3 separate regions of the Homo sapiens genome follow, and regions 1 and 2 are each linked to region 3. Evidence: promoter capture Hi-C in 16 types of primary human blood cells and fetal thymus (Javierre and others, 2016). All regions are on one chromosome and are shown on one strand. The core of a region is centred on a gene start or on the middle of the fragment in contact, and the rest is flanking DNA. Distances in the headings are between cores, read along the strand shown. Region 1 overlaps KANSL1L (KAT8 regulatory NSL complex subunit 1 like). Region 2 overlaps KANSL1L (KAT8 regulatory NSL complex subunit 1 like). Region 3 holds the start of KANSL1L-AS1 (KANSL1L antisense RNA 1).

Region 1 (3,542 bases), core at 422-2,921, 110 kb after region 3:
TATAATTCTCTCCATTGTTTTCATGTTTTATATTCTGTGAATATCCACTCTTTATCATCACCTTTTCCTTCTATTTGCTTTGGGTTTAATTTAGTATTATTTTTATTGCTTTTTAAGTAGGAGACTTAGACCACAGACTACACTATTCTCCTTTCCTAATACAAACATGTATAGCCATACAGCATTGCTTCAGTAATTTAGTAGCTGCATCCCTCAAATTCTGATATGTCATGTTTCTAATATTATTCAGTTCAAAACATTTTATAGTTTCTCTTGTGACTTCTTCATCCACGAGTTATTTGGAAATGTGTGATTTAATTTCTACATATTTCAGACCCACATATTTACCATTTCTTAACATTTCTTTTTTCCTTTATGTAAATCTGTTTTTACCCAGTATGATTTTCCTTCAGCCTGAAGATCATCTTTTAAAATTTCTTTAGTGCGTGTATACTGACAACTTCTCTCTATTTTTGCTTATCTGGAAATGTCATTTTGTCTCTGTTTTTTAAAATGTTTCACTGGGCAGAGAATTTTAGACTGACTTTTTTTCCCCACCTTTCAGCACTTTAAATATATCATTCCATTTTTCTGGCTTACATACCTTCTAGTGAGAAGTTAGCAGTGATTTTTATTTATTAACCACTTCTTCTGAATGACTATTCCCTTGTTAGCTGAAGTCGTTTTACATTTCAGATATTTTTAGCTTCTGAACGTTCAATGGTTCTTTATATGTTCAATTTCTTTCATTATGTTCACATTTTCCTTTTAAGTCCTTGAGCATATTTACAATAGATATTTTAAGCTCTTTGCCAACTACTTTCATGATCATTATCATTTCCACATCAGTTTCCATTAATAATTTTTCTCCGCTTCTTTGCATGCCTAATAGTTGAATACACACATGTGCACATACATACACACATGTCTAGTAGGTTTTATATAAATACATATTTTAAGGGTACTATGATTATGTTGTTAATGTGTGGATTTTGTGGTCTTCCTTAAAGAGTGATGAATTCTGTTCTGACAGGTTATTATATTACTTGCTGTTCAACTTCATAAATTTCAGCTTACTTTAAAGCTTTGTTAGAGCATGTGTAGAGTAGCCACTACACTAAGGCAGTTATCAAATTGAGGGAGAGGTGGATAGTCTGAGGAAAATAACTAGTAAATTAATAAGTGCATAGGCTTAACAACTATGACAAAATGAGATCTTTGGCTGTGGTATTTTCACATATAACTGACAGGAAGAAAAAGAGAATGGAAACCTACATTTCGGAGGGAACTCGACTAGGAAATACTACCATAAGCCTAACAAAGACTATCCCTGGGAGCCAAATCTGCACCAATAGAAAGCAGGGTGAGAATGCAGTGGTGTCTCCAATAAGAGTACACTAACACCCATGTTAGATACAGTCACAAAGAATCATAGACCAAGAGTAATTCCCAAAGAGCAAGGTCAGGGACTATGAAGGACAAATGACAAGGGAGCTTATCTCAGAAAGCAAAATTAAGGTCCTAGCAAGACCTTACTCCACTGCCAGAGCAAGAAGTCTATTATTGTAAGGAACAGGAACTATCATATATGGCCCATTCTTTTTTTTCCCATTGGGAATTTTCCTTGTCCTTTATACCATCATACAAGAAGCAAGAGGTCAAGAAAATTAGGAAACTTGTCTCTTAGTTTATTGGTCACCACATCATGATGAACCACACAGAAACCCGATATAGAGGACTTTACCCAATGAATGTGACTTTGGGTTATCATCCTTGAGAAGATGGTATGTTTTATGAATGAGAAAGAGGTACATGGACATTTGGGTAGCCAAAGAGGCAAACTGAATAGACTTCTTGTTTTCCCCTAATATCCATCCTCCTATACTTTTTGGATAATAGAGCTCCTTGGGTTTCAGCTGAGCCCTCAGCAGCTCAGCTTAGAGACCTTATTTCCCAGCCTTACTTGCAGTTAGGTCTGACTATACAACAAAGTCCTTGAAAATAAAACGTGAGCCAAAATTATGTGCACAACTTCTAGGTCTGGCCATTATAAATGATTGGGTTTATCATTAAAAATGACTGAATATGGAAATGAAATGAAGTACCAGTGACTCTCAACAATGCAGGCAAGGGCAGCATCCTAAGGAACAGCAAAGCTAAAAGGTCTCTGCTAAACCCTGTAAAGCATATCTAATTCTTGACCGTTAAATGAGAGAAAAATAAATTCTATATATTTATGTTGACTTCTCCTTGTTATAAAAGCTTAACATATACCTTAAATAACATATTCCTCCCTCGAAAATATTTCATGCTATTAGGATCATTTGGGCTAACAAGTTCTCATTTAAAATGTTCATTGTCTTTAAGATGAGCCTTACTGACATACAAGTTAATAACTTACATACTCTATCATCAAGTTGTACACACACAATATAGACACATATATGCACACATTCATGAAGTAAACAACAAACAAAAACAAAAAAATAAATATACAGTTGTGACCTCTAGAAATTCTGGCATGAAGATAAACCACATTAAAAAGTGCAGTTTAGGATGTCCAAGGACTATCTGAGGTTGGAACTTAAAAAGGGTTCCAAAAAGGAAGAATAAATGGAGTAAACACATCTTGAGATCTTATGCAATTCTGCCTAGAACTCTGGCAGAACCTAGTGTCAACTGCCTAAACTGAAAATTTCAGTATTAATTAAAAATAATTCATATATGGGATGGGCAAATTTAGTCTTCTTCTCTTATTATCTATCCTCCCACCCCTCAAAGAAAAAAAAGAAAAAAAAGGAGAGATTGGGAAATATTTATGCATTCTATCGCTACCACGCCTCTTCTCTTGTATGGAAAGAATTTTCAAAGTTATAGCCTGTAAAATAGTCTTAAATATGTTTGTAAAATCTTTGTGTAACATCAAACATTGACAAATAAGGACATATTTTTAAAAGGGAAATACTGTAAATAAATGTTAAACTAATCAAAACATTTATTTGCTAAAGAAACAATTTCACTGTTCAATAAGCATTGTGTGTATGTGTGTGCATGTCTCACTTTTGTTCAGGAAGCCAGGCAACCATGTAATGTTTTCAAACTGAACTGTACACGGGCCTGGATGAAGATGCAAGTAAAATCCAGCAAGAGTTCTGTACTCCAAACCCTGCAATTACAAACCTACATCTGCTCAGTGGAAGGAAAATCTTTTCCTAATGCACACAAATGAGTTAGTAATGGGCCTGCGAAACACTATAATGGGCCCTGAAAAGAAATAGGATAAAAATTAAAACTACCTTTATTAATCAAAAAAATGACTACCACTAAGCCAGAATCAAGTACAGGCATTCCTGCTCTAACACAATATATGCACTTCTGTATAACCTCATGTTCTGCAAAATAAAAATAGTTAGACTTATTGTGAAGATAGTGCCAGACCACACAATACCTAAGGAACTTTTAAATCTGAGCCCTAACAAAACAATAATGATTATTATAAAAATGGAAAGTTTCCACTGGCATTTGTACCTAAAATAAAGCAG
Region 2 (3,619 bases), core at 1,023-3,522, 77 kb after region 3:
ATCTCTTGGAATTCAGAAAATATAAACTTGATAGTTTAACTCTGTAAAGAACTGGCTGGTTTAAAACACATGTAGCTAAAATAACATGTATGGTTGATAGGTTGGACTTGTAAAATATTTTCTTAACTTAAATACATGCAGTTTTTTTCTAATTGGTTTTAATTATTGGCATTAAAAGCATGACATATTAAAATAAAAAAAGGCATATTATACACAGAACATGGACATTTCAGATTGAAATCTAGAATATTTCCTGATAGAATCTCCTGATATTTTCATCACTAGCATTGCTATTTGTGCTTTACATTTGAGCACTCCCAATTTTATAAATTAAAACACCAAATTTACAAACATCCAAACAACAATCTAACTCTATCCTAACTCCTTTCAGAGCACCCTAAGGAGCCCTGCCCCTGTTGCTGTCAGCCAGCAACCAGGGATAGGACTGCACCACTGAGAAAAAGTACTCTCTAGGCCAATCAAAGTTCCCACTGCTTTCAGGGTAGCTGTGTTAATAATAAAGACACAAGCTTTCAACTTTGATGGGGTATATTCTGAAATGTAAGGAACTGGGGGAATGAATAGGGATCAAGTTGTCTCTGTACTCTCTGCCTCCTACTCACAAACATACTTATTCCTCAACTGGTTTGCTCGGCTTTCTCCTCCATTCCCCAGCTTCCTCACTCCAACTGTTCTCAACTTTAGGTTCCTCAGAGGCAATGGAGACAACAGAGAAAGAGAAAAAAGGAGTGCAAAGGCATGATCTTAATGGTTTCATAATCAGTTCCCACTGTAAAATTTCTTTCCTTCCTATCTATTCTACCACCCTTCCTCCTGAAAATAATACAGTAATATATACCATATATATATTACACATACACAGATATTATGTTATATATATACTGATATTACATATATTATATATTATATACACACACAGGTTTTACATATATAAATATATATATATATTTGAAAAAAAATATATATATATATATTTGAAACATGCTAATAAATTCCTATAGGCTAGTTGGAAAATTATTACACTCCTAATGTGGCTAAAATACTATATTATTGTAATAAAAAATAAACTAACATTAATATTAGTGTGCATTATTTCAAAAATGGAATGAATTAAATGATTGCTGTGGGCCACCTACATCATGCATAAGTCTTATTTATAAGATGGAAATTGCCTATAGATAATAATGTGTTATATATGAGTTTTAGTTTACACTATGTAATTTAGAGAATATATAACTTTAGAATGCACATATTCAGTTATGGTATTAAATGTATATTTTATTATTTTGTAGTAAAATTTTTGGTAAAAGTAGTAAATGCGCTTTTTAAAAAAATCTACATTTTGAATAGTGCTAACATGCTGACTTTTCCAAGGAGAAGGGGAGCCACTTGATCCCAATTACTGTTTTCTTAGAATGAACAAATATGGCCGTCAAGAAATCTGAAGAAACATGCTCAAAAGTTCTTATTTCATTTGGTATTTAAAAAAATAAATTAGATATAATAGATATGGTATCATTAGTCTGAAAAGCTCTTGAGAGTATCCATTCAAAATTTCTACAAGTCTACACACAAAAGGTACAATTTAAAATGTGGAAGCCCCTACTGCAGGATAACAAAAGAAATCTAAGAGAGAAACCATTTGATATAGCCAGTGTTCTCCCAAGAAAAATATTTCAATTTTTTTCTGAAGGTGAGAAGAATCTGTTGTCTTATTAGAAAGTTTGAAGCAGGGAGAAGAGGAAATTTCAAACCTACTCTCACTAGGTTTCTCCACAAGTACCTGCATGTCAAAGAAACACAAGTTCCACCTTATCAATTTAACTGCAATTGTCTTTGGTTTGATTCCAGTTTATAGTATGGGCCAGTCTGTATAGATTAGTCTGATATCAGTCTGTATAGATTAGTCTGATTTCAGAATCCATATTTATAAATCTGCATCTATGGGAAAACTCTACTCTGAATTTCAAAGTTCTATTTCCAAACCTTTAGAATACTACCTTTCTATAAGTACAAAGCCTGCTATAGTTAGTTTAATAAAGAATTATATTTTTAAAATTCAACCAGGGAGGCAGGGCATGGTGGTTTACGCCTGTAATCCTAGCACTTTGGGAGGGTGAGGCAGGTGGATCACTTGAGGCCAGGAGTTCAACACCAGCCTGGCCAACATAGCAAAACCCTGTCTCTACTAACAGTACAAAAATTGGCTGGGCATCATGGCACATGCCTTTGGTCCCAGATACTTGGGAGGCTGAGGCAAAAGAATTGCTTGAACCCAGGAGGAGGAGGTTGCAGTGAGCCGAGATCGCACCACTGCACTCCAGCCTGGGTGACAGAGACTCTGTCAAAAAAAAAAAAAAAAATTAAAATTCAACCAGGGAGACCGTCATAGTCAACTTCATAATCTGTTTTTTCCTCCATAAACTACTACCCTGGACAAAACTGTTGGAGTGTGAGGAGAGTGGCCCATTCTGATCCACCACTGCCAAGAATGGAGAGGAAAGGGTTGAATATTTATATTTAATCCTCTGGGGACACAGCAGAGAGTTTCTGTTCTTAAAAAAATTAGTAAAAGGATATTCTGATATGTAAAACAACATAGATAAGAAAGACAAAAAATATTTTTAGAAAAACGAGTTACAACAACTGAAACAAGTCAAAACTCTAGCATAAGATGAAAGCAAATCAACTGTTTCTGAGAAGAGAAATCCTGACAATGCAGGGTCTTCACAGAGAAAACACTGTGTGAAAAAAGAACTGCCTCAGCAACATCTCTATTATTCACATAAATTCACTAAAGTTAATTTTAAGTAAAACTTTAAATAAAAAATTTAAAACACACAAAAGGTACAATTTAAAATGTGGAAGCCCCTACTGCAGGATAACAAAAGAAATCTAAGAGAGAAACCATTTGATATAGCCAGTGTTCTCCCAAGAAAAATATTTCAATTTTTTTCTGAGGGTGAGAAGAATCTGTTGTCTTATTAGAAAGTTTGAAGCAGGGAGAAGAGGAAATATAGGAATCTGTAATATGTTGACAAAGCTGTCGCAAGAACCACCAAAGGATGTTGCTAATAACTGCTTTCTTCTCCTCAAAAAAAAAATATATATATATATATTTTTTTTTTTTGAGACAGAGTCTTGTTCTATTGCCCAGGCTGGAGTGCAGTGGCGCAATCTTGACTCACTGCAAGCTCTGCCTCCCGGGTTCACGCCATTCTCCTGCCTCAGCCTTCCGAGTAGCTGGGACTACAGGTGCCCGCCACCACGCCCGGCTAATTTTTTAAAAAATATTTTTAGTAGAGATGGGGTTTCACCGTGTTAGCCAGGATGGTCTCAATCTCCTGACCTTGTAATTCGCCTGCCTCGGCCTCCCAAAGTGCTGGGATTACAGGCTTGAGCCACCATGCCTGGCCTTCTCCTCTGAAAATTTAAGCAAAGTTTAGACCATAAGAAGAATGGTAAAGGGGCAAATGATGTGTTTTCTGACTTAAGGCACAAACTAGCACTTATTGAAACAGGATATTTACAAAACAGCATCTCTCAATCTCTTTCCTTTCCCTTTATCTCTAACTTAAGTGAGAACAATTTTTTTTAC
Region 3 (3,238 bases), core at 1-2,500:
GATACTATATAACACTTAAGGCACGAGTAATTTTTTTTTCACCGTTTCCCCTCCATGGCTATGAAGGAACTGGGAGAAGGATGCTCCTTTCATTAATTAAAATTCTTCACTTTGAAAATTTAAGTTTATTAGGGAAGGAAGGAAGAAAAATATGAAGATGTAAGTATACATACCTTGGAGTAAGTATTTCCTTATATTGGAGTTTCTCTAATTTAGCTGGGGCTACTAATGACATGGGAATCACAATGTTATCTATGTCATAAGAGCTCTCACTTCTCAATCTCCGTCGTGCAGTATTCTGCAAAACAGGATTACAGTAGATTTACAGTACTGTCTAGTTACTTGTAATGATACCCTCCTTTCATCAGTTATGTAAATATGGCAGTACACGTTACATAATTTTTGTAAATACATTGTTATAAAGTCTGACTAAAAAATGTTAAGAAAACCAAAAAATAAAACATTTTTCTATCTTTTGTAAATCAGAACAATCTCTTGGTAGATGTGTAATGTGTATTTATGTGTGCAAGCATACAAGCTTATTTTTAAGACCACAAAAAATAGGTCTTAAATGCAAAACTCTTTATCAGAAAAGACCAACATACATCACCCTAAATGTCAATGAAAATGATCAGTAACCACTTTTTATTAGGAAAGGCAGTGAAACATTTTTGGTCAGCCCTTCAGTATACTCTTCATTTATGCATTCCTGGTTCCTGAGTTTCGGAATTCATTTCTAAACCCTCCCACCTTTTGACCTCTCTATTCCCTGGCCAGATAACAAAAAAACAAACAAACAAACAAAAAACAGGACAAGAACAAGAAAGTCCTGAATTCTCATTAGTAAGACTTTATTTAGCTTAATATGTTAAGGAATAGAGATGATCATGATAATGTTTAAATTTTTAACACATAAAAAGAAGCTATAACCAAATATTAATGAACTTTTAGCTTCATAGTTAAAAATAAGTTGTATGAATCAAATATATTGTTTTCTAACAAGATAGTTATAAATGTCTGTTAATATGTGCTAGTAAGGCTGTTATAGATTAGCAAAATATAAATTATTTTCAAAATCAGGTGTTTTTATTTTTAAAGCTATTTTAGAGTTCAACATATGGAAAAACCTACTCGTGATGAATTCTGGATTCTTGATAAAACGTTGACATTGGAAACAGCAGTAAAATTGCTATGGGATCCTGATTCTGTGTGTTGAAAATCAGATTCTTCAAGTTTAGTTCTTTCTCCTGCCATGGAAAGAACCATTGAATGTTACACATTAAACAAGTCTAATATCATTAGAATTACTTTCCTAATTAGATGACAGGTGATTGATTCCTTGTTTTGTGTGTGTGTGTTTAAATTCGTGTATTAGAAAACAAAAAAGGAAATGAAAAAAGAGGAGCCTTACTTGCAGTCATGCCACAAGTTATTTCCATTTTCTGGGGCTTTGGCAGTTTTTATCGAATATATTTCTTATTGTTCCCTGAATAATCCCTCATCTCATCCCTTTATTCTTGTTTCCTGTGACTCCTATTCATAGTTGAACCACCAGAACTATCTTAATTTTCTTATCTAATCTCATTTTTCATATCTGACTTTTTATCCTAATTTATGTGAGGTATCTGTCCTTGGTCTTCTGAACACTCTTAATTTTTTGAAAAAATTCTGCTATTATAAGTACATGTTTCCGAAAGTACTTGTTCTCTGGTACTCTTTTTTTAAAACAGCATCCTGTTCTTGTTTCATAGATGAAATTTCTCATATCTCTCAGGATATTGATTAGAAGTTTACTTCTGTTAGTATTTTCTGTATATCTTCCAAGTTCTTTTTTTTTTTTTTTCCTGTTTTGGTTCCCAGTTACTGTGTGTGTGTGTGTGTGTAGTAAATATATATATGTATGCGTTTACTTACTGCCCTTATTTTAGTACAAGTGTTTTAAAATGAGAATATTTCCTGCATAATATAAAATCTAATACCCAGTCCATATTTAAATATCTCCATTTGTTAAAAAAAAGTCCTTTATAGCTAGTTTCTTCAGATAAGGATCTATATATAAAAATTGGCCATTGTCTCCTAGGTTTCTTATAGTCTAGAATAAATCATTTTTCATTACATTGACTTTTGACAGGCTGGACCAGATGTCCTACCCTTTTGGAATTGTCTAGTTATTTATTTGTAGTATGACATTTCTTTATTTTATTCCTGTATGTACATCAAACTTGAAGTTAGATCTAAAGTGTCAGTCAATTTAAGTGAAACATTTTATATCTTAGGTAATGTATACTTCATGTTGCATCTTATTAGATGTTTTTAAAGCTTTATATATATATATAAGTTGAATCTTGTTGACTTTCTCAAAATCCTGAGGAATCTGCAGTGCATCAACATCTCCACAGTAGGTACCATAAATGGTTAACAGTTTCTGTAAGGCAACTTTGCACTAGCCTATTTTGAGCATAGAACACAACTTTGAAGATTAAATCCCATCCAGGGACTGATTGGTAGAAGACAACTAGTCAGGGAACATAGGAGGGAAATACTTAATTGCCATAAAGTGGGTAGATACCAGTCCACAAATAATTCTAAATTAACTACGAATATGCTGTTTCATGTTTGTAGACTCATAGATGTTTTGTGTTATTAGTGGCTGTTCTGGATTATAAACTCCCATGAGAGGTTATTTTAAAATCAGAATTTTTAATTTTTAATATTTATCACTACTGCTTATATCCTCACTTTAACCTACCTAATGCTGTTTCACTCAAATGTCTTTTCTTTCTTCCCTGTAACAGTTGTGCAGAAGATTCTGACCTTATTTGAGGCTTACATATAGGTGAATATCCATTTCTCCATTGATTCAGAGTACTATGTACTAAAACAAATGAAAAGGAAATATTAAGTTTTAGTTCCTTAACACAGACAGTGAACATGTCAATCTGTTTTTATTTGTAACTGCAGAATTTTAAGATACCAGTTCAAAATTACAGATAAACATAAATACCAAGACACACAACTCCAACTAAAAACATCCCCAGGAATTTCCAGTTTCTTATATTTTCTCCATTTTTTTGAGGGGGATGAAAAGGGAAGATGATCTGTTCTCAAAGTCTTCCAAATTACAGAAACTTGATAGAGTGAGGATTGGCTCAGATATATAAATCTTGGCGATCAGAATCTTTAAGTTCTTGCTTACCTTTAAATCTGGAAATAAGTTGGGACCAAGTAAGATTCAACA

The links. Contacts are between HindIII fragments. The CHiCAGO score rates a contact against its expected background, and 5 or more counts as called.
Region 1: a contact is called between a fragment that was not itself captured here and the fragment with the promoter of KANSL1L-AS1 in region 3, in 7 of 17 cell types (neutrophils, fetal thymus, activated CD4 T cells and 4 more). The highest score is 11.1, in neutrophils.
Region 2: a fragment that was not itself captured here is called in contact with the fragment with the promoter of KANSL1L-AS1 in region 3 in 2 of 17 cell types (neutrophils and fetal thymus); the score reaches 6.7 in neutrophils.

The regions. Positions count from the first base shown.
Region 1 is chr2:210,133,513-210,137,054 of GRCh38, forward strand. The region is part of intron 2 of KANSL1L (KAT8 regulatory NSL complex subunit 1 like); the gene reads right to left. It overlaps LOC107985977 (a long non-coding RNA gene), which reads right to left. Exons shown (of 2, transcript XR_001739866.3): 2 at 1-3,542. Among named protein-coding and RNA genes, the nearest start is that of KANSL1L, 36 kb to the right of the region's middle. The HindIII fragment of the contact is 1,178 bases long and covers 1,083-2,260 here.
Region 2 is chr2:210,104,396-210,108,014 of GRCh38, forward strand. All of the region lies in intron 3 of KANSL1L (KAT8 regulatory NSL complex subunit 1 like), which reads right to left. Among named protein-coding and RNA genes, the nearest start is that of KANSL1L, 65 kb to the right of the region's middle. The HindIII fragment of the contact is 3,488 bases long and covers 529-3,619 here.
Region 3 is chr2:210,028,672-210,031,909 of GRCh38, forward strand. It overlaps KANSL1L-AS1 (KANSL1L antisense RNA 1), which reads left to right and starts at 1,251. Exons shown (of 5, transcript NR_110291.1): 1 at 1,251-1,327; 2 at 2,796-2,836. KANSL1L (KAT8 regulatory NSL complex subunit 1 like) reads right to left here. Exons shown (of 15, transcript NM_152519.4): 9 at 2,750-2,875; 10 at 1,132-1,247; 11 at 174-298. The HindIII fragment of the contact is 1,781 bases long and covers 537-2,317 here.